Linked DNA regions of Homo sapiens: all the other regions are linked to region 1. Evidence: promoter capture Hi-C in human tissues and cell types (Jung and others, 2019). All regions are on one chromosome and are shown on one strand. Each heading gives the region's core, a stretch centred on a gene start or on the middle of the fragment in contact. The rest is flanking DNA. Distances are from core to core; before and after follow the strand shown.

The links. Contacts are between HindIII fragments. The study calls those that stand out against the background at their distance.
Region 2: a fragment that was not itself captured here is called in contact with the fragment with the promoter of EPHA4 in region 1 in 1 of the 25 tissues and cell types used here (mesenchymal stem cells).
Region 3: a contact is called between a fragment that was not itself captured here and the fragment with the promoter of EPHA4 in region 1, in 1 of the 25 tissues and cell types used here (lymphoblastoid cells).
Region 4: a fragment that was not itself captured here is called in contact with the fragment with the promoter of EPHA4 in region 1 in 2 of the 25 tissues and cell types used here (H1 embryonic stem cells and IMR-90 fibroblasts).
Region 5: a contact is called between a fragment that was not itself captured here and the fragment with the promoter of EPHA4 in region 1, in 1 of the 25 tissues and cell types used here (dorsolateral prefrontal cortex).
Region 6: a contact is called between a fragment that was not itself captured here and the fragment with the promoter of EPHA4 in region 1, in 1 of the 25 tissues and cell types used here (dorsolateral prefrontal cortex).
Region 7: a contact is called between a fragment that was not itself captured here and the fragment with the promoter of EPHA4 in region 1, in 1 of the 25 tissues and cell types used here (dorsolateral prefrontal cortex).

Annotation. Positions count from the first base shown.
Region 1 is chr2:221,570,241-221,573,899 of GRCh38, forward strand. It overlaps EPHA4 (EPH receptor A4), which reads right to left and starts at 2,064. Exons shown (of 18, transcript NM_004438.5): 1 at 1,918-2,064. The coding sequence starts at 2,008. RefSeq lists silencers at 2,020-2,439, 3,040-3,319, 3,370-3,529. The HindIII fragment of the contact is 17,926 bases long and covers 1-3,659 here.
Region 2 is chr2:219,928,075-219,931,923 of GRCh38, forward strand. The region is part of intron 2 of LOC105373890 (a long non-coding RNA gene); the gene reads left to right. Among named protein-coding and RNA genes, the nearest start is that of MIR4268, 23 kb to the left of the region's middle. RefSeq lists an enhancer at 3,403-3,849. The HindIII fragment of the contact is 3,836 bases long and covers 1-3,382 here.
Region 3 is chr2:220,111,970-220,116,139 of GRCh38, forward strand. The region is part of intron 2 of LOC105373893 (a long non-coding RNA gene); the gene reads left to right. Among named protein-coding and RNA genes, the nearest start is that of MIR4268, 210 kb to the left of the region's middle. The HindIII fragment of the contact is 6,513 bases long and covers 1-4,170 here.
Region 4 is chr2:220,037,954-220,041,693 of GRCh38, forward strand. No RefSeq gene overlaps it. Among named protein-coding and RNA genes, the nearest start is that of MIR4268, 130 kb to the left of the region's middle. The HindIII fragment of the contact is 4,075 bases long and covers 163-3,740 here.
Region 5 is chr2:220,069,079-220,073,155 of GRCh38, forward strand. LOC105373893 (a long non-coding RNA gene) reads left to right here. Exons shown (of 5, transcript XR_001739889.2): 2 at 85-218. Among named protein-coding and RNA genes, the nearest start is that of MIR4268, 160 kb to the left of the region's middle. The HindIII fragment of the contact is 4,261 bases long and covers 1-4,077 here.
Region 6 is chr2:219,992,068-219,996,018 of GRCh38, forward strand. The region is part of intron 1 of LOC105373891 (a long non-coding RNA gene); the gene reads left to right. Among named protein-coding and RNA genes, the nearest start is that of MIR4268, 87 kb to the left of the region's middle. The HindIII fragment of the contact is 3,370 bases long and covers 947-3,951 here.
Region 7 is chr2:220,089,562-220,093,542 of GRCh38, forward strand. All of the region lies in intron 2 of LOC105373893 (a long non-coding RNA gene), which reads left to right. Among named protein-coding and RNA genes, the nearest start is that of MIR4268, 180 kb to the left of the region's middle. The HindIII fragment of the contact is 7,415 bases long and covers 1-3,981 here.

The DNA.
Region 1 (3,659 bases), core at 814-3,313:
AGACCTCCCTCCCTCCCCTTCAACATTAGCCTAGGGCTCTCAGAGCCTTTTTGTCTTGGGCTCCCAAGTTTTTCTCCCCCCCCCCCAAAAAAAGAGGGGGTTTAAAAAAAAGAAAGAAAACAGTCTCTACATCTGGGGCGAGAGAGGTCTCAGGGGACGTCCTAACAAGTGTGTGAAGTGGCCAGGAGAACGCGGGATCCACGATTCCTCTCAGGGGAATGAATAACCCTAGGGACCGAGGGGCGGCGACGGCCGAGATGGCACCAGAACCACCAGAAGCCACGTCGGAAGGAGATGGGAGATCCAGAGGGCGAGAGAGGGCCCCTTTCCTCCCAAGCGATGTCTGTGGGCAGGTGTATAAATCTCTCAGAGCCTCCGTCTGGAGGGCTCCGGGTACCGGCTGCCCAGCCAAGGCTAAGTTGGTTTTTGGCTCCCTCCTTCGGAACAGAGAAAACGATAGATTACACAGGGATGGATGGACGGATGTCTGGAGAGATGGAAAGATGAATGGATGGATGGATGGGTGGATGGATGGATAGATGAATGGGTGGATGGATGGAGGGATGGATGGACGGACGGACGGACAGATATATGGATGGATGCATTATGGATGGATGCATGGACGGACGGACGGATGCACGGAGAGATGGATGGATGCATGGATGGATAGATAGACGGATGGACGGACGGATAGATAGATGGATGCCGGAAAGGAGAAGAATGAGAGACGGATGTGAGACTAGATGCACGCAGGCCAGAGCACCAGCATACGCTGGAACAGAGCACGAGCATACACTCGAACACACGCGCACACACTCAGGACATCTGCGCACAGACATACAATCCTCCGCGTCCGCTTCCACGCAGGCATTCGCGCACCTACATACACGCAGTTGCACGCGCGCGCACACACACAGGCACACACACGCAGACATGCACACACACGCAGACATGCACACACACCACACATGCAGACATGCACACACACGCAGACATGCACACACACACCACACATACACACACACACACACACAGTTCGCCTCTCCCTGGGTTTCTCAGAAACTAAATGATCACCGCCCCCCCGCCCCGCCCCACCTCCCGACACAGACACACAGGCACATACAATCCTCCCAGCACGTCCGAACGGATGCACAGAAAACTGAGCACCCAGACGGGTCCCGTCGACCCCGCACGTTAGCTCTAAACTGTGTGCAATTCTGGGGCGAAAAGCTAAAACTCGACTGCGTTCAACTTGCCGGCGGGTTCCCCAAGTCTGCGGGGCGAAGAGCTCGGGCCCCTCAGGCCCGCAATCGCACCCTCGGGGCGCTGGGCTTGGCGAGGAGAAAGGTGTCTGACTCCGGGTGCTAGAAATCAGGTCACTGGCGCCTGACGAGCGGCGCCACGACCGCTGCGCTGCGGAGCAGGCCCCGCAGCCCGGTCCCGAGAAGCGCAGGGCTCGGGAAACTTTGCAGAAACCAGAGCTCGAAAGGCTTTCGCTAGAATCCGGGAGCACCAAGCCTTCACTGTGCTCCAGGCTGCGTTTTCCCCTCGCCCCGGGCTGGCTCAGGAGAGGACGTGGTTCTTGTAATTTTTTTTTTAAATCCCGGCGTTGTCTCCCGTGCATCCCCTCAGGGCGCCTCGAGCGGGCCTCTCTGGCGGATGCTGATAAACTTTGGCCTTTGGTTACAAACTTGGACAGACCCGCCGCGTGCACGGGTCACCGCCTCGGGGCAGGCTGTCCGGCGGTTCCCCGCTGCCCCTTCGCCGATCCCCTCGCCTCAGCCCCCTTCTCCCGAATCGGGACGCACCATTCACACTGGGCTCCCCCCGCACCACCTGGCCCTGCGCTCCTGAGGACCCCTCACCCGCGATGGCCCCTCGCTGTCCCCGACCACAGAAAGGCCGTCCCGCTCTTACCTTCATTCGCGGGGTATACCCTGGAACCTGTGACAGCGTCGCAAATCCCGAAGAGACACGAAAATAGGGCGAAATAGAAAATCCCAGCCATGGTTCGCCGGTGCCAACGCTGCTCCTGCCGCTTCTATCCCAGTGGAATAAATGCTTAAGTTAGGAGAGCAGCGGGCTGAAGACATTGCCAAGGGGGCGGGCCCGGCCGGTGACGTGAGCCCGCCAGTCCGGGGCCCGCGGCCAATGGCGGCGCAGACAGGGCGGCCGAGCCCCGCCTTCACCGAGCAGGGCCCGCCCCAGGGTTCCGCCCCCTCCGGGCTCCACGGGGCGCGCGGTCTCCCGGGGCTCTAGGGGGCGAGCACGGCCGGTCCCCGCCCCCGCCTGCCGGAGGGAGCCAGCGGGATCCCCCACGTTACCTCGAAGGTCGAGCCCCTGGACGGCGGAGGGACTTTGGAAAAGCTCGGAATTGACCGAGGGGAGCCAGAGAAGAGGTTGGAAACCTTTTCTCCCACCACGGGCGGTTTAAGATGGAGGAAAACGCTCTTTTATTGAAATAAAAGAAGTCTAAGCTGACCTGCGGTTGCTTCTTTAGGAGAGTCGACGTGTCTGCGTCCAGCGCGCCCGGGCTGAGCTGCAGACTCGCGCCTGCCACCGCCACCCTCTGCCACCTTGCCCTGTTTTGTCTTTATGGCGCTTCCCCCTCTGAAATACTCTTTGCGGGGAGTTTTGTGGCTCTATCACTCGCTTCTTCCCTGGCTCCCCAGATGCCTGGAGAGCGGGGACCTACTTGGTCCCCAACGTCCAGTCCGCAGCAGGGCTCCGTCACTGTCTCCAGAGACTGAACGAATGACTTTCTAGCAGTAAGGAAGTCCCCGCTGGCCCCGTCCCCCTGCACACGCCGTGGACCTCGCCCAGGGCCCAGGACGCCCCGAGATGGCCTTGGGCAGGGAACCAGTTGTGGATTTCCCGGGGGCAGGGTTGGGGGCAGTCCCTGGAACCGGGCCTAGCCCGTCTGGGAGCGGTGGGGTAGAAGTGAAAGGCTTAAGTGTGGGTGCGGGGACTTGCAGCCGCACAGACAAGGCAGACCGGGACTGGGAAGCTGCCCGGAGCGGCTGCTGCGACTCTCCGCTCCGACCTAGCCGGGGCAGCCCTCCCTGCCCCGGGAGAAGACGGCGAGCAGGAGGACCCGCAGAGCCCCGCCCGGCTGCTCCGGCCCCGGGGGCACTGGCACCATCGGGCTGTGGTCTTTTCCCGATGCCCGAGCCGTGGACGCGGCCACCTAAGAGCGGTCCGGCGAAGGCAGCGCAGCCGGTGTCCCAGGGACCGGTCCCCAACGCCACTCGGTGCATTTCCCCAGGCGCTGGCAGGGGCACTGATTCCTAGCAATGAGGCCTCCCTTCCCCTTCCCAGGCCGCCCCTCCTCTGACTCCCTCCAGAGCAGGGCCGAGTTTTCCTGGGGAGCCTGGGTCCCGGCGGCCGGGCGGCCGCTGGGAGGTGGAGGAGCCTCTCCAGCCCCGGCCGCAGCTCATCGTGAGCCAACCGCGCCACCTGCCGGCCAGATGCGGGAGTGTGCGGCCCCGGAGGAAGGGCGAGCGGACAAAGACCGCAACCCGCAATCCGCAACCCCGCAGAGAGGTGGTGCGTGCGTTTGGGCGAGCTTTTCAGCCACCGCCAAGTCTCGTGCACTAGGGCTACTCCTACCGTGGGGCTGCGGACAGCGCTCAAGAGGTCCTGGAGTCTGTCGTGACTCT
Region 2 (3,849 bases), core at 215-2,714, 1.6 Mb before region 1:
AATGGGCCAAAGATGGTCTCTGGATATTGGCCCCTGGGTTGTTTATTTCTTCACTTCCGGCTGAGACTTCTTAGATCAAAAGCCTATTGGTGCCAAACTCAGTTTTTCACACATCCAATTATTTTAAAAATAGCCCAAACAAGCAGATTTTTAGCCACTTAGGGCCTGCTTGCTTTGCATATCCTGCAAAACCTCACCTCCCACCTGCTGGCCTTTGAAAGGCAGGGCCTTATGCTTACAGGATCCAAGCAGCTCCCATCCTTCCACGTTCTCTGACCTAGACACACTCCACCATCCTGCTGAGGAACATCTCCTGGACGCAACCCTCCTCTTTGCTCCCCCTTCTGGTCCCCCTCTCTCCCAAGAGTTCCCTGGTTCTCTTCCTCTTCAGAGCAGTAGTTCCTTCTGGACAGTCCCATGATATGAAGGGCTTCTCCTCTAACGCAACCTTGTCCAAATGTCTCCCAGTAAAACTCACTGGGGGTTATTTTTCTCTTTATTAGCCCTCAAATTCTTTGAACTCTCACAGTATATTATGATCAAGGCCCTGTTACTCTTGGCCATCAGCTCCATACCCTGTCTCTGAACTGAAGGGCTATACATAGATTTGACTGCACTGTTTCTTTTCTTTTGTGTGTGTGTCTGTGTGTGTATACCTCTTCTAATTGGGACAATGCTCAGTCTTCCAAATCCTGTCTATTCTGAAACACCCACAGAAATAAATTATCTTACCTACTAAGAGGCAATCATTGACTGGTAATGTTTTTGCTGCTTAAGTATAATGGAAAGTACATAGATGTCATTTTATTATTGTTCTATAAACTGCAGTGTATATTTTAGCCTTTGTGATTACACACACACACACACACACACACTATATATATATATATATAAAATGAAATATAAAAAAAGAGTCAACCTTTTCTAACACAAGAGACAAGGGAAAGAGTGGAGTTTGTGGTGGAGAAAGAATGAGACATAGAAATAAAATTAGTATCCAATTATTTAAGGCTGCTTCATGTCATTTGCTAATCTTGTTTTTATAACTAGATTACAAACTTTGTGAGATCGTGGATAAATGTCTTATTCCTTTACCATCTGTGTCCTGCTGCAATATTGGATTAGTATTTGTTCTCAATAAATTTGTTGATGAAGGCAAAGATAGAGAAGAGGAAGTTGACTGGGGAAAAGAAGAGATGGAGGGAAATAAGAGGACAAGGGCTTAGTGAGGAAGAGAGAAATCTAGGAAAGGAAGCTTAGCCAAGTGACCTTAGGCAAAAGTCTTTGAGCTTCAAATTACTAACCTATACATGGGGATAAGATGGCAGGTGTGACTGGATAGGGATGTGGAGTGACTTTTAATGGGGCATAGGTACACTTGCGGGTTGCATCTTTTCCTATGCCAAAAAACCCATGAAGGTGGCCCTCAGAAGAGCAGGTGACCACCTGGGCTCTGGAATCACCTGGAAAGTCTCAGAGCGTTAGTTAGGAAGAAGGTGCCAGGGGACCAGTTTAGAAGAGTAGCCCCTTTGTTTGGGGGAGATGTTATCTAGTTAGGCTCTTTGTATTTTTAGGGCTCAGAAGGGAAAGTCTGGGCAATAGATCCTAGGGGAGGAAAGGAGCCCCCGGACTCTGTGTTGGTAGATCCTGGTTCCTCCTTCACTGAGCTCTCTAAGCTCATGTGGCAGCTGGATGTGGTCACTACACGTGGTTTACAGCTGGATGGAAACCAAAGCACTTAGAGCTAGATTTGGGGGGCCCAGTTAGGAGGCTCCCTCAGAGGAGCTGAGTACTGAGGGAATGGCTGATGTTCCTAGAAAGAGGTGTAACCACCGGCCCCGGAGAAAAGGTCACAGCCGGTGTGGATTATCAAAGGGTGAGAGGAGTCTTAAAAGGGAGACATTAGACTCCCTGCTAATAAGGCCTGTGGAGATTTGGATGATTGATTAGAAGAAGAAGAGACAATGGGATTCACACTTACATTTACAAAGCAGTTCTGACCAGTTATACTATGATTAAACATGCTGCCTGCCTCCCCATGCATGAGGAGCCGAATATGTATTCCAAGGCAAGACAAGGACAATTATAAAAAGATTTAGGAAGATGCCAAGGTTATGGATTGGAAACCTCTGTTGTTCTAAATCGTGTGGCATCACTTGGGCTTTCTCCCTGGTGCAATTACGTTACAGAAAATCACTTTCATGCTGGTGTCCACAGCATGTGGGCAAAATCAGGGAGTTTAAAAGGCCTTCACGGTTAAGAATCTTGGATTGAACACCACATAACTGGTTTCAAAAAGTCTGAAAACAATGGATACTTGAAAATTTATAACTTACCTAGAGGATCACTTGATTTTTTATTGAAGTAATTAAAAATAAAACAACTTCTTCTTGATTCAATTTGTTATTCTTCACCCTCATCTGCCATTGCCAAAAGTTATCCATTTCATTGAAATTTACTAATATGTTTACATACCGGGTACGTTTTTTACTTATAATTTAAAAATCTTCTCCGTATTCCACTATCATCTTTCATTTCTAAATGCATTTACTTATGATTTTGCTTTTTATGTTTATTGATTAGCTTATTCAGAGATTTATCTATTTTACTGAATTTTCAAGGAACCAATTCTTGGTATCATTTATCAACTTTGCTTTTCTATTTTTAATTCATTTATGTATTTATTTATCTTTATTATCTTCTTCCCCTGCTTGAGTTCCATTTTGCCATTTCTTTAGTTTCTTGAGTTGAAAACTTTATTATCTTACCTTCTATTAAAATAGTAGCAAATATATGTGGTTATATATTATATGAAAGCACAGTTTTAACCATATCCTATAAATATGTGTGTGTGTATATATATATGTGTGTATGAAGAAAAATAAATTTAAAAACAAAAATATTATACAATATTGCAGAAATCTGCTGGTGAGGCCTCAGGAAGCTCAGGGAGCTTCCATTCATGGCAGAAGGTGAGGTGGGAACAGGCATATCACATGGCAAGAGAGGCAGCAAGAGTGATGCCAGGCTCTTTTAAACAACCAGCTCTTGTGTGAACTCAGAGTGAGAACTCACTCATTACCACGGGGAGGGCACCAAGCCATTCATGAAGGATCTGTCCCCATGACCCAAACACCTCCCACCAGGCTCCACCTCCAACACTGGGAATTGCATTTCAACATGATATTTGGAAGGGACAAATATGCAAACATATCACATTTGTTATTAATTTCCAGTTTTATTGTGTTGCATTCAGAGAATGTGGCCTGATCACGTCTAATTTTTAGAATGCATTGAGGATTTTTAGTACAATACTTAAAAGCAGAGCAGGTGTTTCTCCGTAAGTGAGGGAGAACACACCCATACCCACTCACCCACCCACCCACACACATGCCAGTGTAACCTTATAGATTCAAAAGCATCATTTTTTCTCTTGTTTTCTGATTACTTGACCTGTCATAGATTGATAATGATATAATAAAGTCTTTATTTGTAAATGACTGCCAAAGGCAGTGTGATGAATTAGAAAAAGCTGTTTTCAGATCTCAGCTCCATCTCTTAGTAGCAAAGGATTTCCCAAAAGCAGTACCTGAGACAAGGATTTGAGTGCAAGTCAATTATTTGATAGGCGACAGGAACACTGGTAAGGAAGTTAAGAAATGAATCAGAGAAGAGGAGGCGGCACTATTTCAGTAAAATGGGTATCTGTGTTGCTTGATATTTATTCTTTGAAATTTGAGGTTTGGGGGAGGAGCCAAGATGGCCGAATAGGAACAGCTCCGGTCTACAGCTCCCAGCGTGAGCGACGCAGAAGACGGGTGATTTCTGCATTTCCATCTGAGGTACCGG
Region 3 (4,170 bases), core at 818-3,317, 1.5 Mb before region 1:
GTCTTCCTGGGTCTCAATTTCCTCTTATGTATCATGGGACTAATAACATCCATTATGGCTTATTTTTGAAAATGAATGCATGGAATGCTGTAACGTGCACTGCATGCAGTAGGTGCACAATGTAGGTCAGCATGGCACGCATATGCAAGAGAGTGGGGACTTTCTGACCATAAATGGAGCCAGTTAATTAGGCCACACGTTGAACTTTAATCTTGGCCTTCACAGCATCCTGCTCTAACCAACTGAGCCAGGCATATTCTTACTTACAGTGTTGAGTTTATAGAAACTTCAGCTTCAGTGATTTGAATCAACATCAATGTTTTATTCTGGAGGCAATTAGCAACTCCTCAGTCACTTTGTAAATCCACTTTGCAGTTGCCATTTTGAGACAGAGCTGGCATTACGGGGCTTAATTCTGGCAGGTAACCGTTGCAGTTGCCCAGCGGAGCTGCAATCTAGTAATGGAAAAGTGTTTCATTTTAACTATGAAATTTAACACAAAGAATACAGCTGCTCAACCGGGCAGTGACAGTGTATGTTAATTTGATTTATATACATGCAATGTACCATGCCTAATGTTGAATGTTGGAAGACTCCAGCAAGCCTGATACCAGCCACATAAATGAGACACTACCATTACGAACTGACTTCACATGTATAAGCTCACCTGCTTGGAGCAAATAAAGCTGTGGGAGTCAGTCTGTGCAAGGGAAACAAGGAGTGTTCTCCTGCATTGCACACGTGAGGGCTGGGTCTTCCCAAACCAAGGACGTGGCTTTTCTAGAAGTAGTCGTCAGGATTCTCACTATATGCCCAGTCCATTGGCAAGTCCGGGACACTGTGCTCAAGTAAATAATCTGTGGAGTGGGAAGTGGCTTAGGGCTCCCTGTTGGTTCACGGCATGCCCTACTTGGATAGGAAACTTCTGGCTAACCAGAATCCCTGAGAGCAAAATTCTTACAGGAACTGACAGCCATGTGGAATGCACTTGGCAAAAAAAGCACATGAATATGCCCCTGTGGGGTATGTTGGGGGTGTATGTGGTATGTGTGTGTTGTATGTATGATGTGTGTTGAGTGTATTGGGTCTGTGGTGCATGTGGTATGTGTGTGTTGTGTGTCTGTGTGTATTGCATGTATGGTGTGTGTTGTGTGTATGTATGGCATGTATATGTGTGTGTTGCATGTGGCATCTATGTTATATGTGTGTTGTGTGATTAGGTATGTGTGTTGTGTGTGGTACGTGTGTTTGTGTTGTGTGTATTTGTTCATGCTGGGTGCCTGTGTGGCATCTGGTACTCACATTCACTTTGGACCAACACTGTATAGAGATCTAGGTTCATCCTGGGTACCCCAGTGCATGGCCAGATCACTTTCTGTCTTCATTTTCCCACATTATAGTAATGACAGTCTATTGACATATGGAAAACATTGAAAGTAGAGGAAAAAAATCACCCCTAATCCTACAGTCCCCTGGGTCTGACTGCTGCCACTTTGAGATCTTCTCTTGTGATATTTATCCACATGAGTGTGAGAGTGTATTTGTACTCATCAGTGGATGCTACATCTTATGATAACTTTCCATGTTAAATTGCTACTTAGTCTTCATAACTCTCAGCCTTAATAGCTGTATAATATTCCATCAGCGCTGTATCATTACTTCTAGTTAGGTGGCTTTTGAGCATTCTGTATGATAAATAGCACCACTCCTAATATTCTCCATTCCATCAGGCCCGGTCCCCTTTGTCTTCTTTAACTCCGAGTTTAGCGCAAATAATTGTGGCTGTGGCTGTGGCTGGAACGGCTCATCTCTTGGCATCGACAGGTCTCTGTAGAGATGAAGGCTTGGTTGGCTAATTCATCTGCCTCCCGTTTCAGCCCTTCATCAAGGCCTTGCATGGGCCCTGAGGTGGACAGCAACAGGACAGGCCGCCACTCCAGTTAAAATGCCATGAGCCAGCTCTTTCACGTCACCTCCCTGAGTGTGCTGCCATGCCCACAGCACCCCAGTGCAGTGGTACCCTGTTGCTGGCACTTCAAAGCCCTTGATGCTGTGTTTACACTTTTGCTTTCCCTCTTTGTCCCATAATAAATTCCCAGGGGGCATGTTATCTCTTTATCTTGAAACGGGCAGGACTTTTTAGAGTGGGATAGAACCCTGTGAAGCAATTTATTCTGTGGGCCTCCTGGAAAGGGTAGACTGCTTAAGTGATTTTCTTAGGATTTCCATGGTTCTCAGGAATTTGTACAGTGTTCCTTGCTGTCCCTGGCCCCGAACACACAATCTTTTGTTGGATCTGCAAGGGGGAGGTGGTGCATTTTTCCTTGGCACTCTTCCCTGTGTTGTACCCTGTGCTTCCTCCTGAAGCCTCTCGTCCATGTCGCTAGTTTCCTTGATGATCCCACAACCCACCCTGCTCTGCCCTGCCCCTGAGCTGGCACCTCATCATCCATTAGCCCCTGTGCTTCTTCCCCAGCTCTTTGTTCCAAGGCTGTCAGTCTTGGCCTCTGGAATCATCTAATTGTGTGGGGATCACATTATTTTCCAGTATGTAAATCACCTGCCATGGGGTAGGCCCCATGTGTCCTGGAGCAATACGATAACTAGGAGGAGGGAGTTGGCAGAAATGACTCATTGGTACCACTTCCAGTTTTCTGCCATGCTCTTAAAACAAGAATCAGCAGTTGCCACTCCAATTGGGAAAGTCAACCTTCCACTTGCTCAGGTCATCTCCCTCATTCCTCTTGGAGCTCATCTAACTTTGTCTCCTTTTCACTGGCCCAGGAAGTAGAAGACTCTTGGACTTATGCCCTCAGTGTCCTCTTTGTCTACCTTCTCTTCTTTCTCTAGCTGGTCTTTTGCAACACCCAATGCCCTTTCCCCCAGGAAAAGCTGCTCTCAGAAAGGAGTCCTGCAGAAGCGATCTATACCTCGCTGTGGAGTTGAGGCTTCATTACCTTTTTCCAGGGAGGCAGTGCGGTGGTAAAAGATCGTTTGCTCAGGCAGAGCTGACTTCAAATCCATACTCTGCAACTCATTAGTTCTTTGGCTTCGTCTTTCTGAACCTCAGTTTTCTCCTTTGTGAAATGGAAATAGCACCTACCTTGGTTGACATAAGGCATGTAAAATACTTAGCAAAGTTCCCACACGTAACTACTACTTATTGACATGGATTATTTTTATTTGAACCTTAGGTCTATTTGTGGGATGAAAATATTTGAAAAAAGTTTAAGCTGCAGCAGCAGATTCTGGTGCATGCTTGTATGTATGTGTCTGTGTGCATGGATATCCGTGGATGCATGCATGAGCAGTGATTTGGGGGAAGCTGGGAAATCTCTGAAATCACACAAAGAAAGCAGTCCTGTCCTCCTACTATTAACTTCATTCTACCCATTTCACGTGGATGCCAGTTCTCTTGGGTTTTCTTCTTTTAGTCTTTAACCAGCCAGTTGTATAGTTCTTCTAAGCATGATGCTTTTCACGATCATACCTCTTGCTTTCCAAATGTCCACAACCTTGCCTTGAAGTGTCCACTGCCCTCTGCCCTTCAAGCAGAGCACTGTCAAGCCATGGATCTCCAGGGAAACCAGAGTGAAGAGCCCTTTTTAGTGAACAAGGGCAAAATTGTTGCCATGGCAAGAACATTTTGGAAAATGCAGTCTTTTGGAAAGCAATTTGGTAATATCTATAGACATTAAAAATATATACAACTGATTATTCCACCACTAGGAATCAACCCTAACCCTAAAGGTTTGCATAATATCCATAAAGAAGTATATCTAAAAAGTTCATTGCAGTGTTATTTGTTGTTGTAGAAAATTGGATACAACTTAGCTGTTTATCAATATGGGGATGGTTAAATGAATCTTACATATAATGGAATATTATATAGCCATAAAAATGAGGTTAATTTATGTGTCTTGCCACAGAAATCTCACCAAGGTGTTGTTAAGTTTAAAACACACACACATACACACACACACACACTCTCTCTCTCTCTCTCTCTCTCTCTTAAAATCTGATCACATCTAAAGAAAAATGACAGAGAAATATCTGGGTATATACCTCTGTATTGAAAATGAAGTGACAGGATGCACACCAAACTGCCGATAGCTGTATCAGTCAGAGTCAATCAGGGAAGCAGAAATACAATGTATTATGGAATAAGGA
Region 4 (3,740 bases), core at 950-3,449, 1.5 Mb before region 1:
CAAGAAGACAGACGGGACAGTCTGATCCAGCCATGGGCTGTCAGAGGAGGTGGCCATTCATAGAGCAGATTCTTGGGGTCCCCGAAGGACTTAGTGGCCCTATAAGTTTCAGGAGAGTCTCAGATTTTAATACTGCAAGGATAACTGCAGATAAACTCTAGCAGTTGCCCAGCAGGGTCCTATGGAAAATTTTAGATGAGCATGCTTGTATTATAAGACATAGAGTCCTATTCCTAACCAGTTGTTGACTGACATAAAGTCTGCTGGCAGGATTAGACTATGGAGTGGGGAGTGCTATGGAGAGGATCAAACTGAGCACCAGTCTGGGATCCATGGCCAAGGCTGGGCCAGTCAGATGGAGATACCATACCAGAAGGAGTGGAAGAGGCAGTTGAGTTGTAACAGGGTGTTACTAAAGAGGAAACTGGGCAAATTTAAGTCCTACTAGTAATGACCAGCAGGGCTATGTCTGTGAATATTTGACTTGTAGATCTTTAGACAGTCATGCTCATGGGGGCTGCACATTTGTTGCCCATTTCCTAAGGATGATACAGGAATTTGTGGATAAGTTGATTTCTTTCTTTCTCTCTGAGATCTGTATTGGGAAGATGTGAGAGGCAGCTCTGTGTTCTGGAAAGGTGAGCAAATAGATCAGTTTAATATGAGGTTTCCTTATGGAAGTTGTTTATATCACTACCAAGCTCTTGGATAAATCCTAAATATCATTACATTCTTAGATGAGTATGCTTTTACTTTGTTTTTATTTTGCCTTTGATAATAATAATAATAATAGTATCATTTATTGATTTTCTTCTATTTTGTGCTGTTTTATATGTCTATATCTATCTAATTACATCTTTTTACCCCTCACAAAAACCCTACAAGTTATTATTACTCCCATTTTATGAGTAAAGAAATTGAGGCTCCGCGACTTGACTAACAGCACATAGTAAATGGTAGAGGTGGGAAATAAATCCAGATCTGTGATTCTCCAAAGCCCCAATCTACCCAGTATACCATGCTACCCCACCGAGCCAGGATGGAAAGTGAGCATATCATTCTTTGCAATTCTCCTCCAAGGTGACTTAAAGGTTAGTGGACAATGGTTATGCAAATTGGTCTTTCATAATTTAAGGATTCCTACATAACCCCACAGGTAGCACGTAATCTGATTTATTTTCACAGAGGACTGTAATGATCCTACCACTTTAAGACGTCAGCATTTCTGTATGAGAAATATTGTTTCTCTCCAAGCTTTGTGGCTGAGAGGAAGTCAAATCAACATATCCTAAATTCTATTTTAAAGTAGTGATTAGATCCCACCCTGTACAGAACATAAGAAAGTGAATTTAGAATTGATGGGTACCAGATGGCCTGAAAAGGAAGAAAAAAACAAGTAACGTTCAGCAGGAAAAGGTTAAGTTTGAGTGTTATTCAAAGTTTATACAAACCAAAATTTTAGCCTTGACTACTGCTGTAAGGCATTTTTCTATCTTCCTCCTACCTTGTAATTAATTAGGACTGAGGCTAAGAGAATGAGGGGAGAAATATCAATGGAGTAGAACAGATGAACAGTTGAGTGGAGGCCTTGTTGCGGTTTGAGTAAAAAATTGGCTCGAAGTTTCCTTACCTTATTTGTGTTTTGTTTCAGACTTCACAGTACTGGAGTTAAAAATATGTATGTGTGTGGTGTTAATGTGTTTAACAGCATGATTGATTTAACGGATACTTGGAGAGACTGACCAGGAGTCCACTCTCTCAATGGCAGAACATCAAGCTTGAGCACCTTTCATTTTGAGTAGCCAGCCTGTAAGACAGCAACTTCCCTGGGCTTATTCCTGCCCTCCTTGGACTTGCTGATGAGCTGAGCATGATGCTTGGCAATGATGCCATTATGAGAGAGGGTGGCTAGGGAAATGGCAGCACCACTGCACTTATTGCTTTTAAATCGAAGCATTGGATATATAAATAAAAGATTGTCATGGTTTTCTTGGTTTTAGAAGAAAAAAGCCTCTCAACAGCAATGTTATTCAATTCAGCTCCTGCTTTCTTTGCCAGCAGCTCATTGAGGAGAATGGGGCTTGAAAGGGGGTGGGGTGGAAGTGGGGCAGCCAGTTGAGCCTCATTAGTCAACAACTGGAATCATCTGGGGTCAGTATGTGGTGACCTCCTGCTATGGCTCCATTGCAACAAAAACCCTTGAGGCCTCCCAAACACATATCAACCCTCAGATATATCTGGAGGAGTGACTTGAAAAAGCAATTTTTAACACACAGAAGATTTTCTATCCTTCATTGCAAAGGTGATGCTTCTTTGACTCAGGAGGGTCTACTGTTATAGCTTCCCACTTCAGGAGCAACATAATCAGGATCATTCAGCGGAATCTCCTGAAATCCAGAATATATTTCTTTAGGCAGAGGCTGGGGAGAATCAATCCTGAAACCTGTAGTGTGCCCAACCTTCACTTGGCTTCTGTTCTGGGCTGCTCTAGAATGTCCTGGGCAGTGCGGAGCTGGGCTGTGACAGTGTTTGGTGTTGTATGTTGCAGGAGGGTTACTGGTTCCCAGTGGCCTGAGCCTGTCTCTGTGTTACCACTGCCGGAGAACCTGGGCTCATCATCTGTGCTATTGGCAGAGCCGCACTTACTAGTAAATCTTGGCGTGTGAAAGCTGGAAAGCACTTTGGATATTCTTTTTAGGTAATCCTTTTTGTTTTATTGCTGAGAAAGCAAGCCCAGGGAGGATAAGTGACCCGTCTAAGACCACAGAGCCCTTGGTACAGAACAAGGGCTGTACCAACCTCTCCTCTTTTCTCCTAGCCTCAGTTTCTCAGCTTGGTCCATTGCCTTGCTCCTTCTGGGTCTCCTGTGGGGCTTTTCCTGGGTTGGGTCGCTGGGATTTGCCAAATCCTGGTCCTGCCACAGCAGAGACTTGGCTGAGGTCCTTAGAATGTCCTTGGGAAGCTGCTGCCTTAGAAGGTCCCCCTTTGAGCAGCAGACAAGCTTGTTTAGCACCTTCTAGGAGGTAAAAGAGAGTGGAGCCAATTCTGTGTCCTGAACACTGGAACCTTCTTTTCCAGACCCGATTCTCTGGTCTCCCGTGGTGTATGAGTTTCTTGTTAAATTAATGTTTGCCTGTCTGGAGTGCCAGAGGGATATAGACATTATAGGCCAATTAGAGATAAAAATCAAACCAACCAGAGTTGTCCTTTTAAAAATTAAAAGTCCTTTTTATGTGCTGTGGAGGTGTTGGCATTATCATAAAGACTAATTAGGACATTTTACAACATCCTGGTAACAGGAGGAAACAATATTGTTGGTAACTTTAAAGATTATTAAGCATCTTTAGCACTTCAGGTCAGATATTTAAGATGCTTTCTGTGCTCACCTGCTGTTGCTGCAGGAAGTATTTTATTGTCTCATAAGAAGAAATGAGCATTTTGAAGGCATAAATGCCCGGCTGTAATGGACGGTCCTTCACTTTGCAAAGCCCTAAAACAGGGTCTCCAGGAAGAGTTGACTGTGACTCCACATGAGATTTGTAACACAGTGTTTATCAGTCTGTGTGTGAAGGCAGTTTCCATCTCGACCACCTGGAGAAAAGCAATCCCCTCAAAGGCAGACATTACTTAACGAGGAGGAGGCTTCGCTCTGGCATTGGCGGCAGGAACAAGGAAACCAGACCGTGCATGTTTCTGTGAAAAATGCTGCCTTCACTTGCAGGCAGATGATTCTCCCACAT
Region 5 (4,077 bases), core at 864-3,363, 1.5 Mb before region 1:
CTGTGGATTGGGATGGCCAGAACGTCTTCAGAGGGGAGGTAAGACTTGAGCTAAGTTGAATTATATGGTGATATTTCTCAACAGTAATGAAAGCTGGCTGAGCAAAAACCCAGAGCATAATTTCTCACTGGCTGGCTGCTCCAGATAGTAATAGCTTCAGTGCCCTTCAGAGTGGAATTTTCCTGAGCCTGTGAAGATGTGTGAGGTGTACCCAGCAGGTAAGCATTCTTCCATTTGCCTTCCACCCGTTGCTTTAATTAAATGCACATTGCTTCTCCTGGTTAGTTCTTCCAAGACTCCAGAAGTTGTGGAATGTCACTGCAGCAGCTGAAATGGCAGTTCACTGAGTGGAAATGATGCAGACAGGGAAAGGGATCTTTTAAGTCTTTTTTTTTTTCACATTGGTGATGGGGGTGGAGGCAAGGAGAAGGTGGGGTTGGGCCATCGGACCAAGGGAAAGAATGATTCTGGGGAAGATTTCCTCTAATTTCTGAGTCCTTTTCTGATGTTATGGCTGCTGCTTTTTTTTTTATATATATATAGAATTCAGTTAGATTTGTGGCAGGAGGCTCCTAGATTTACACTCTTCCTCCAGGAATTAGGGAATCACAGAAAAAATAGCTACAGTTATGGAGGGCTTTCTATAAGTTTAAACCCTCCATATGGATTATTTTATTTAATCCTTACAATATGCAGGTACATTTTACTGATGAGGAAATAGAAGCCTAGAGAGGTTAAACAAGTTGCTCGAGATTATATTGCTACTAAGAGGTTCAAAGAAGAATTGGAATTTTCAATTTTCTTTAAACTTTAAAAAATGTAACAACTTTGGGGCCCAGGCGTGGTGGCTTATGTCTGTAATTCCAGCACTTTGGGAGGCTGAGGTGGGCGGATCATGAGGTCAAGAGATTGAGACCATCCTGCCCAACATGGTGAAACCCCATCTCTACTAAAAAAAATAAATAAATAATAATAATAATATGTATATATATAAATTAGCTGGGTGTCGTGGTGCGCACCTGTAGTCCCAGCTACTCGGGAGGCTGAGGCAGGAGAATTGCTTGAACTGGGGAGGCAGAGGTTGCAGTGAGCCGAGATAGTGCCACTGCACTCCAGCCTGGGCAAGAAAAGCAAAACTCTATCTCAAAAAAAAAAAAAAGTAACAACTCTATTAAGACATAACTCATATACATTACAATTCACTCCTTTAAAGGATATAATTCAATGGTTTTTAGCATATTCAGGTATGCAACTGTTACCACAATTTTTAGAAAATTCTCATCTCCCCCAAAAGAAACTCTGTACCCATAGCAGCCACTCCCTAGTTCTCCCCAACCCCTTGCTCCCCTTCAGCCCTAGACAACCACTAATAAACTTTCTGCCTATGTGAGTTTGCCTATTTCATATGAATGGAATAATATAACAGGCAGCCCTTTGTCACTGGCTTCTTTCACTTAGCATAATGCTTTCAAAGTTCATCCATATTACAGCATGTGTCTGTACTTCATTTCTTACTATGGCTGAATATTCTATTGTATGGCTATACCACATGTTACTTAACCATTCATCAGTTGATGGAAATTTATGTTGTTTTCATTTTTTTGCTATTATGAATAATGCTGCTATGAATATTTATGTATTTTTTTTTCTGTAGGCGTATGTTTTTATTTCTCCTGGGTTATACCTAGGAATGGACTTGCTGGATCATAGGGTAACTCTATGTTTAACCTTTTGAAGAACTGACAGATTATTTTTCAAAGTGACCGCACCATTATAGATTTCTACCAGCATAGAATCTTCCATGTAAACCACTCACAAGGTCATTTATATCTTGATCACTTTTTCTTTCTCTTTTTTTTTGAGACAGAGTCTCGCTCTGTCGCCCAGGCTGGAGTGCAGTGGCGCAATCTCGGCTCACTGCAACCTCCGCTTCCCAGGTTCAAATGATTCTCCTGGCTTAGCCTTCCGAGTAGCTGGGACTACAGGTGCCCACTACCACTCCCGGCTCATTTTTTGTATTTTTTTAAATAGAGACGGGGTTTCACCGTGTTAGCCAGGATGGTCTCGATCTCCTGACCTCGTGATCCGCCTGCCTCGGCCTCCCAAAGTGCTGAGATTACAGGCGTGGTTGGTCACTTTTTATGCACACAAAATATCCATTAGCTTACTATGGCTCTAATAAAAACCATTGAGAAACTGGAGAATTTTCTTGATGAGGAACCTTAAAGTCGAACTCCAGGTTTGGAAGCTTCAGTGCCTTTTGATTTGAAGATGGTAATTGAGCTAAGTGCTGATGAGGTAAATGATGAGAGCTGCCATATTTGTATGTCCCTTCATTTCCTGAGGCATTAGGGAGATTTTCTGCATATTTCTAGAACTGAGTGGTTTTTGGCAGTACATATGCAGGTGTGGCAATAGCTCAGGATTGTCTATTATTCTGAAAAGCCATTGACATTTGCTGAATGACAACACACAAAAGACGCATAATATCTATGCATATGTCATGCTGATCTCTTGAAATGTTAGGTACTCTGGGCATCAATTTACTGGGCATCAAATTTACATCAAATTCACATAAACCCAAGGCCATTCTTTTAAGAGGAAATAGGAGAAAGGAAACCCGGAAAGTAATTCTTTTTTGCTCTTTGCAACAGATATGTGAAAGGGGCCTAAAAGGTGATTTTCAACAAGGTATACGTGAATGAGTCTTGAGCCTTTCTGTCTGGGAATGGAGGAGCATTTGCTGAGTGTTTATTCTGAGTGCACTGGGCGGATGTGAGAAGGGAATAAGCCATGGTCTCTTGCCTCTGGCAGTTTCTAGCCTGTGTTACCACATAATAACTCAATGCTAAGCTGTGACTGTAAGTGCTACAGGGATCGAGGGAAGGGAGAGGTGGAGTGTGCAGCAGTGGCAGCTAAGAAAGCTTACACAGGAAATGGAACCAACCTTACAGAAAGCCAAGCCTAGAACCGAGTTAGGCTGGAAGGAATGGTGAGACTATTCCAGGTGGGGTCAGTGGTACCAACATGACAGAAGCCACAATGTATTTAGGGGTCAATGGACAGATGGGCCTGGCTGGAGCAGAAGATATATGGGAAACTTGGAGTGAGGAAAGGTTAGAAAGCAGAATAGCATCATGGAAGGAGCATGGGACAGGGAATCTGGACATATGGATTCTGCTTTTAGTTTTGCTACTAACTAGTTTTCGATGCAGGCTCTGTGATTTAGTATGGGGCTTCTGATTCTTAATCTATAGACTATGGGAGCTGAACTAGTCCTAGTTCTCAAATCTGATCTTATATGACAATTCCCCGAGTGTTTATTTAAAATACAGACTCCTGGGTCCATCCTGTGAATGTCATGTTTCCGTAGATATGAAGTGTGGTCCCAGGGTCATGGTTCTCTTGCTGCACAGTGGAATTATTTGACTTGTTTTTAAAACTAGGAATGCCTCAGTTCCAACTCCAGAGATTCTGATTCGATGGGTCTTGGGAGCAATGTAGGCTTTGGGAATTTGCAAGGCTCACCAAGTGATTCCCAGGGGCAGCTAGGCTGAGAAGCACTTATCTCTGGTGGATTTGGTGCCCCTGGTTGATTCCAAAGTACTGGAGGCCTGGCTGGAGACTCCATGGGAATGGAAGGTCTCCAGATCTAATCCTAACTCTGAAGGACTTTGATTCTGTAAAAAGCGTGCTGAAATCAGGTGGTGAAGGGCCTTAAATGTTAGAATGATTTATATCACATCTTGTTTTATAGGGAGCAGGAAACAAGTAAGATGTTTGAGCTGAAGAGTAGTTTAACATGTCTCACCTTTGTACATTTCATTGTTTTAGGGCATGAGAGCCACCACCGAGGAAGAAAAGAGAAAACTGCCTCTTCATTCATGCGTTTATCTGGAAAGGGTGACCACTGCCAATTCCGTCGTGTGACAGGATCTAGTGTCTCTGCACAGCATAAACAGAAACAGTCAAGGGGGAGAGGTGGAATACAACCCGAGGCCGCAGGGTGGTATGGTGTGGTTGTCACCGAAGTGCAGGCATCCTTAACCAAAGGACAGGCCACACTGGTGGGCTGGA
Region 6 (3,951 bases), core at 1,382-3,881, 1.6 Mb before region 1:
TGGTGGTGGCGCGGGGAGGGTAGAGTATCAGCGGGGGTTCCCACTGCAAGGTAGGGAGCTCTGAGCTTGCTCCTGGCTTTGGGGGGTTTCTGTGGATCCCCCTCATGGCCTTGGACCTAGACTTAGAGAAGGACAGTTGGTATGGGCAGGGCTCCAGAGTGCAGAGGGACAAACATCTGTACAAGGAGAGCAAGGAGAGAGCTGCTCTGGATTCAGTCTCAGTATCTTTCTGGCTAGGCCCTGGGCTATCTTGTTTACTTTTAATTGCTCTGGCTATTCTCTGCACACAGCTCGACACAAAACACACCTCCTTGGACAACAAGTAGGAGGCAGAACCCAGTCTTTAGGATCTAGAAGAACTGGGTTCTGCCCTAGTTCTTCCATTTATATGCTAGCTGACCTTAGGTAAGTTACCTAGACTCTCTGAGCCTTGGTTTCCCCACCTATCAACTTAATTATTAATAGTATCTACTATTGCTACATAATAAACAACCAAAAATCTCAGTGGCGCCCAACAGGAAGCATTTATTTCTCACTCACAGGGCTGTTGGTCAATGGAGGCAAACTTTCTCAGATCACAGAAGCATGAATCTTGGACCCAAGTTTTGTGTCTGCTCCATGTGGGTTGCTCTGGGGCCCCAGCTAGAGAGCAGTGGCTGCTGGAGCTGGCTCTTCTGGTGGAGCTCTGAAGCTTCCAGATGGGTGAGAGGGAACCTGCAATGCTTCTTCAGCTTACAATTCTTATACTGTCACTTCTGCCATTCCATTGGCCAAAGCAAGATACATGGCCAAGTCCTGCGTCTACAAGTTCAATTTCCTACAGAGTAGGAAATGCATTCCTACTATGGAGGGAGATGGGAATGAATATTTACTGAACCATAATCTAATTACTACTCCCATTGGAAACAGATGTTTTGGAGACTTAATGAGATAATGATGAGGGGCATTTAGCATGGAGCCCTAGATATAGTAAGCTCTCATTAAATATAACTTTTTTTTTCTGCTGCTGCTGCTGCTGTTCCTGCTATATCTATTCCTGTGACACTCCCTTCCTTAGCCTAAGAGATGAAGTTCTGGAGAAGAATGCATGGGAGCAGGCTGTGTACCATTCAAGGCCTTGCTGGCTTGGAGAATCAAAGCTCCCTCCTTTTACCCCAACATGTAATGTTCTTCCCTTTGACCTCAAATGGGTCCATGGAAGCTTCTGAAAACTTCAGGTCCTTGTACATCCTATTACATTTAAAGCATGTTCATGCCCATTCTTATTTGACTCTCTCAATTACTTGTGAAGTAAACTCAGAAGCCATTGCCACTGTCATTTTATGGAGAAGAGAAGAGGTTGGGTTGATCCCAGGTGACATCTGTCCTTTGGGACTTTCTAGTCTACAGCTCAGATGGCACAAAGTGTCACTCTCATTTCTATTTTTAATTTTAATTTAATTTTTTTTTGAGACAAGGTCTCGCTCTGTCACCCAGGCAGGAGTGCAGTGGCACAATCTTTACTCACTGCAACGTCTGCCTCCCAGGATCAAGTGATCTTCCCACCTCAGCCTCCTGAGTAGCTGGGACTACAGGTGCTTGCCACCACACTGGGGTAATTTTTTGTTTGTTTTTGGTAGAGAAGGGGTTTCTACCAAAAACAAAGGCTGGTCTCAAACTCCTGGGCTCAAGCAATCTGCCTGCCTCAACCTCCCAAAGTGCTGGGATTACAGGCATGAGCCACAGCGCTCAGCCCCAGAGTGTCATTTTCATGACACGGGTATTAGTTGAGGTTGGCAGAAATCAAACATAAGCATTTGAAAATTTAGTGTTCATTTTGTCATTCATTCATTCACTCCTTTAATAAAGCAGGACGTTTTGGAGCTCTCGTTGTGTGGTCCATAAGCATGTTATGGTGGACGATTAGATAAGTGCTATAAGGCATTAGGGGCTCAGCAGACTCTGCCAATTTCAGGCCCATTTGGGGTTCAGATATTGGCAAGGTGTTGGCAGTGAGGGCCAGAGGCAGGAAGACTGAGCCTTCTAATCACTCCTGCCTTGCTCATTGCTGTGTGTCCTTCATCAGCCATATGATGTCTCCTCTCACATCTCCTTAGAGCACCCATTAGGTCCAACTAAACTGCTCTTTTAGGATGCACTGGGGCAGTTCAGGGTCCCAACACAGCCTCCTACTCTAATAGGCACCCTTTGATGATGGAGAAGGCAGGTCTGATGCCTAGAGTTGGGGTCGGCAATCTGGGCTGTTGCACTGACTCTGTGGCTGGCCGGGAGTTTGGGAGGCATCTAAACACATTCCCTTCTCTTTCCTTTTCCATCTTCCTGTCTCTGAGATGGAACTTGTAATGGACTGAATGGAGATGGTCTTGATTACTTAGTTCCTTTTTCTCAAACCATAGCTAAATGTCATAACTATTTAAACTTATGAAACAGACAGGGACCATTTATCCCCATTTTACAGATGAAGAAACAGGCTCAGAGAGAGTAAAAGATTTGTCCACTGTGCTGCTGCAATCCCAGGTGACCTTATATATCCTTCCTAGTCTTCAGATTCCTTAATACTTTTGAATTCACAGACACCTGCTCTGTGTTGTCCTTGCAATGCCCAGGGCTTGCCAACCCTTACCTGTCGGTGGTGTGAGGAAGCCTGAAGTAGGAGCAAACAAGGAAGGAGAATTTCTCCCTCTTCCTCCCAGGGATTCCTGGTCATCTACCACAACTCCTTTGTTCTCTACCACCCCACAACCCTGGATCTTGCAAGGGAAGGAAAGATCCATTCAGGACCGAAGCCCATTGGAGCCATTCATGTTCTGGGTTGACGTGGATTCAACTGGGCATGGCTGCTCTGTGTTGGGTGGGCACCCTTACATCTCTACCAGTCCTGGTCCCTTGACCTTTGATCGTCTCTGGCCTTGGCCTGTTGTGAACCTGAGGTCTCTTGCTTGCTCTGTCAGTCTCCCTCCTACCCTCTTGATGAAGGTCTTGACTTCAGAGGACCTTTCACAAATAACAAAGGTGTCTGGGCTGCCTGGAGTGTCTGTTCTATGCTAACACTCCACTAAGTGCTTTATATCTGCAGTTTGCTCTGAGTGAATTGAATCCCCAGACTCTAGGGTAAAGGTGATATCGTCTTCATTTTACAGACAGGGAAACTATGAAGCTGGGAAAGGCTATTTATTTTTCTCAGGATTATACATCTGGTAAATGAAGCTTACTCCTTCTATAATTTTACTCCTTCTATAATATAATAATATATTACCCCTTCGATAATAGCTGCTGATATGGGCCAGGGGCTTCTTATCCATTATTTGCAATCCTCATAACAACTCTGCTGTCTCATCCTCTTTGTTTACCAAGTGATGGAATTGAGGGACAAAGAGGTTAAATAACTTGCAGTGGGTCACACAGCTAATAAGTTATAGTTATGAAGTTTAAGTGCAGGGCTCTGAGACTCCCAAACTCCTCTTTTATTCCCTTTCTCTTGAGACTTCTTAGACTTCCTCATGATCTCACCGAGCCCTTCTCAAATAACTGTGTGTGTTAGAAGTCTGGTTAAAAGAACATCAAGAACAGAGCTGACAGGCAAAACATGTCTCATTTACAGGGCAGCCTGCGTGTGTGGTGTGCAGAGGGCAATGGTGGGAAGCGAAACCCCGTCCCTGGTCTTGGTAGTTCATGGGCTGATTGTAAGAACGTGAGACCCTCTTACACTTTCTTTTTGAGCATCTCCTGTTGGCACCACCTCCTTTTCTCTTCCTTTTGACTTCTACGATCTTTGGTCTGTGTTGTCACCTCCTTTTGACTTCTGGAATCTTTCATCAGTGTTGTCACTCCACGCACTGGCCCACGCCTCTGTCTGGGCCTGTACCCAAGCCCCCTCAAATCATTTGAGTGTCTGCCTTAGTAAGGGAAGCCATGAGGCACCAAAGGTACCAGGAAGTGAACCAGGGTCTT
Region 7 (3,981 bases), core at 1,136-3,635, 1.5 Mb before region 1:
CAGAAAAACATGAAAAGGAAAGATGGGCATAGCCTCCCAGCCAACGTCTTTCTCCCGAGCTGGATGCTTCCTGCCCTCAACCCTGGACTCCAAGTTCTTCAGTTTTGGGACCCAGCCTGGCTCTCCTGGCCCCTCAGCTTGCAGACAGCCTATTGTGGGACCTTGTGATCATGTAAGTTCATACTTAATAAACTCCCCTTTATATATATATATATATATATATATATATATATATACACACACACACACACACACGTATATGTGTATCTCCTATTAATTCTGTCCCTTTAAGAGAACCCTGAGCAATACAGTGTTTCATCCCCAACCAACATTTCTGATACCCTAAAAGCAACTTTGATGAAAAAATTACCTATAAAATTGGTGTAACTGCTATCTATTGTAATCACTAGGTAAAATAAGCAGAAAATTGATTAGAAAGTTTGATGGGTAGTTTTAAAGAGCGCACGTTTTTCTTTCCTTTTTAAGCTTAAGATTCTGTAGATTGACAATTTCAGCTGGGTTCAGCTAGATGGCTCTGCTATATGTGGACACGGGGCTGGCTAGTCTTGTCTGGGGCAAAAGTCTGTGTCTGGAGTCTGCAGCTGGGTCAGCTTAGGGGCTGCTGATCATTTGCTCGTTGTCTCAATTCTGCTTCGTGTCATCTCTCTCATCTTTCAGCAGGGCAGCCTGGGAGAGAAGGCAAGCCCAATGAGCAAGCATTTTTCAAACTTCCCCTTAGGGCACACTTGCTAATCTGGCCAAAGCAAACTATGAGGGCAGCCAGAATTAAGGGGTAGAGAAACAGACTCCACTTCTTGATGGGAATTGCTGCAAGGGAACATTGTAAAGGGATGAGGAAACAGGGAGGGGATCATTTATGGCTGGTTTTACGGTTAAGCTCACCCTCCAGCTTCTGTCATTCTCAGTGCGATGTGGACAAATTTTGCCATGTTCACATACCATCCCTATTTAGTTTTAAAAGCATCAACTGTAACTTAAAAACAAAAGCCGTTCTAGCCTCATACTAAGCAATATTATCTGTGAAATCACAGACTTAATGGGCTAGTTATTGTTAATTAGTTGAATGGTGTCCCCCCAAAATTTATATGTTGAAGTCCTAACCTCCACTACCTCCAAATTTGACTTTATTTGGAAGTAGGGTCATTGTAGATGTAATTAGTTAAGATGGGGTCATACTGAAGTAGGATGGGTCCCCGATCCAATGTGACTGGTGCCCTTATAAGAAGACGGAGAATGCCATGTGATGACAAAGTCAGAGATTTAGAGTTACGCATCTGTGAGCCAATTAATGCCAAAGATTGCAGGCAGATGCCAAAGCCTGGAAAAGACAAGGAAAGATTCCCCTTCAGGTTTCAGAGGAAGCATGGCCTGCTGTCACCTTGATTTCAAATTCTTAGCATCCAGACCTGTGAACCAATAGATTTTTGTTTATTTGAGCTGCCTAATTTGTGGTACATTTTCATAGCAGTCCTAGAAAGTGAATACAGTTATTTTTAAAGATAAAATATTAAGCAAAACCATATGAAGTTGCCACTTTTTAAAAAATGTTTGAACAACAGCAGTGTCACAGTAAAATAAATAACTACTTGGTTATTAAGAAAGTTTGTGGACTACCTAAATTTATCTTGTATACAATCACTGATATATCACTATACTTTTGAAGATGTTGATTTAAAATGTTCTATTCAAAGATAAAGCATTTAAATTTCCTGGGAAGGTCAGGCTGTAGTTAACATTTCTCCCATACAATACTGTCTTTCCTTGTTTTACGCACTTGGGTAAGGATTAGAATAAAAATCTTTAGAATTCATTTGCAAATGCTCTAAACCTGGCTATTTTTTTTTTTTAGTACCAAAGTTAATTTTTTTAAAACACATAAATTGGCCTCTGACCTTGAGATATTAGAAAATCAAGGAGTAAATTTTCTAAAATAGACAAAATGTGCCATTTGGCTGCGAAATAAAATATGTGAATTGAATCAAGTTCCCTTCATTGAGGCAGTCCAAATTAACTTGTAACTACTTTAGTAGAATTAGATCCCAGTTACTTTTGCATGGAAATAATAAAAAAAAAAAAGAAATCTAAAATTTCTGAATCTTGCAAATACTAGCTAATTAGGAGACTTTATCTGTCATGATTATTTTGAGCAACTGATCATTTCCATCAATCAACCAAGCAACCCTGATAAGCCAATCATTTTTTAATCGATGTTGAGCCACTGAAAAGTTGCCATAGATACCAAATTCTACAGCCATCACAACAGAAAGTAAGGTTAGAATTGGAAGTGACAGGTGTATTCATCACATAGTTAACAAGCCTTTGAAGGGAAAGAGAGAGTTTGTCAGAGTCCTTAGGCTGGGTATAAAAGATTGCAAAGAACACTCAAACAATTCCCAAAGAGCACTTCAAAAGAAGGGAGAAGAATCCGGTTTTCATTAGAAATGCAGGAAGATGTTTGCCTGAAATTCAAGCTGTAAGTAACAAGTTCCTTGAAGTCTTGCTTGGCTGTCATTTACCCGGGGTCACCAGCAAGTTATCTTAAGAGTGGAGAGTTTCCTTTTTGTTTCCTTTCCTTTCTACATCAAAAGTAAATAAGGATGGTTGAGAGCGTGGGGCGGTAATAACTATAGAATGCAGTCCTGATTGCACTGTATATAAATGTGGAAATTTGAAAGTATATGCATTTATATAGATATAGATGCCCATATGTGTGTAGACATATATATGTATATTTACTTGTTAATACTTTTAGAATCAAAAAGTAGAACCAAGAAATATATTTTGAGAGTCACTGTACATAAGCCAGTATATATTACTAGTAAAAATATTGCATGTCTAGAACATTGGGAAATAGATAAAAAAGGAAAGGACTCACTTCAGGTGAAAAAAACTTAATGTATTTCAAAAGTATAGCACACAACTTCCTTTGGGGCGGGCGAGGCAAACTGGCTTCTCATCCTCGTTACGCACATCAGCAGTGGGACTATGTGGAAACACAGGGTTATCCTCAGGCTCCAGGAATGAGCACTGGAGAGAAGCAGTCAGGAGAATAGAGTTCCCACCCTGGCTTTGCCATTTACTCAGTGTAAATGCAAGTTTCTCTAAGACTGTGCAAACCAGGAGGGGAGGGGGGTCTGCCTAGATTGCTAAAGACTTCATCTTGCTCTAACATTCTTTGAGTCTGGGGTTATTTGTATCTATGCTACACAGCCAGCTGTGGCTTACAGGGACCCCTGTGTGGTTTGCACATCATGTCTAATCATCGGCTCCCATCCGCTTCCTAACACTGTGTCCCGGGGATCCCTGCACACCATTTTGGTTTCATGTTCCTAAAATGCTCCCTAACATTTGGGCACCATAAAAAGAAATCAGTTGAAACAGTTTGATAAATAAAGGAACGTAGGTCTGAATAAGTTCCTGAAGGGCACGCAGTGATCTGGGTGTGGAACCAAAGCAGGACGAGGCTCTGTTCCTCCCCTAGGAGGGTGGTTTCTCTGGGTTGCTCTCTCTGGGGAGCAGAATCTTGACTTTCATGCCCACTTGTTCAAGCATTTTGTTTTTCTCTCCTCTATGGTACCTGGAGGAAGAATTTTATTTGGAACTCTGTTATAACTACCAAAATGTCAAGGGAGGAGAAGCAAATCCATATCATGGCATAAACAGTTTACCAAGTAGTCTGTCTGTCTGTCTACCTACCTACCTACCTATTTCTCTCTCTCTCTCTCTCTCTCTCTATTGTCTGTTTGTCTAGCTAATCTATCTTTTCATCTATTTATCTTTCTATTTATTATCTATACCATCCAATATCTGTCATCTATTTATCTAAACTTATATATAAATTAGTAACCCAGTGTGAGTCTGATATTAAGTACCTCTAATATTCCCTCTTCTTTTTTTCTATATCTCAGGTCATGGCTATGATCAAAATCAATGCATGATGAGTAGTGACTTCTTTCTTGC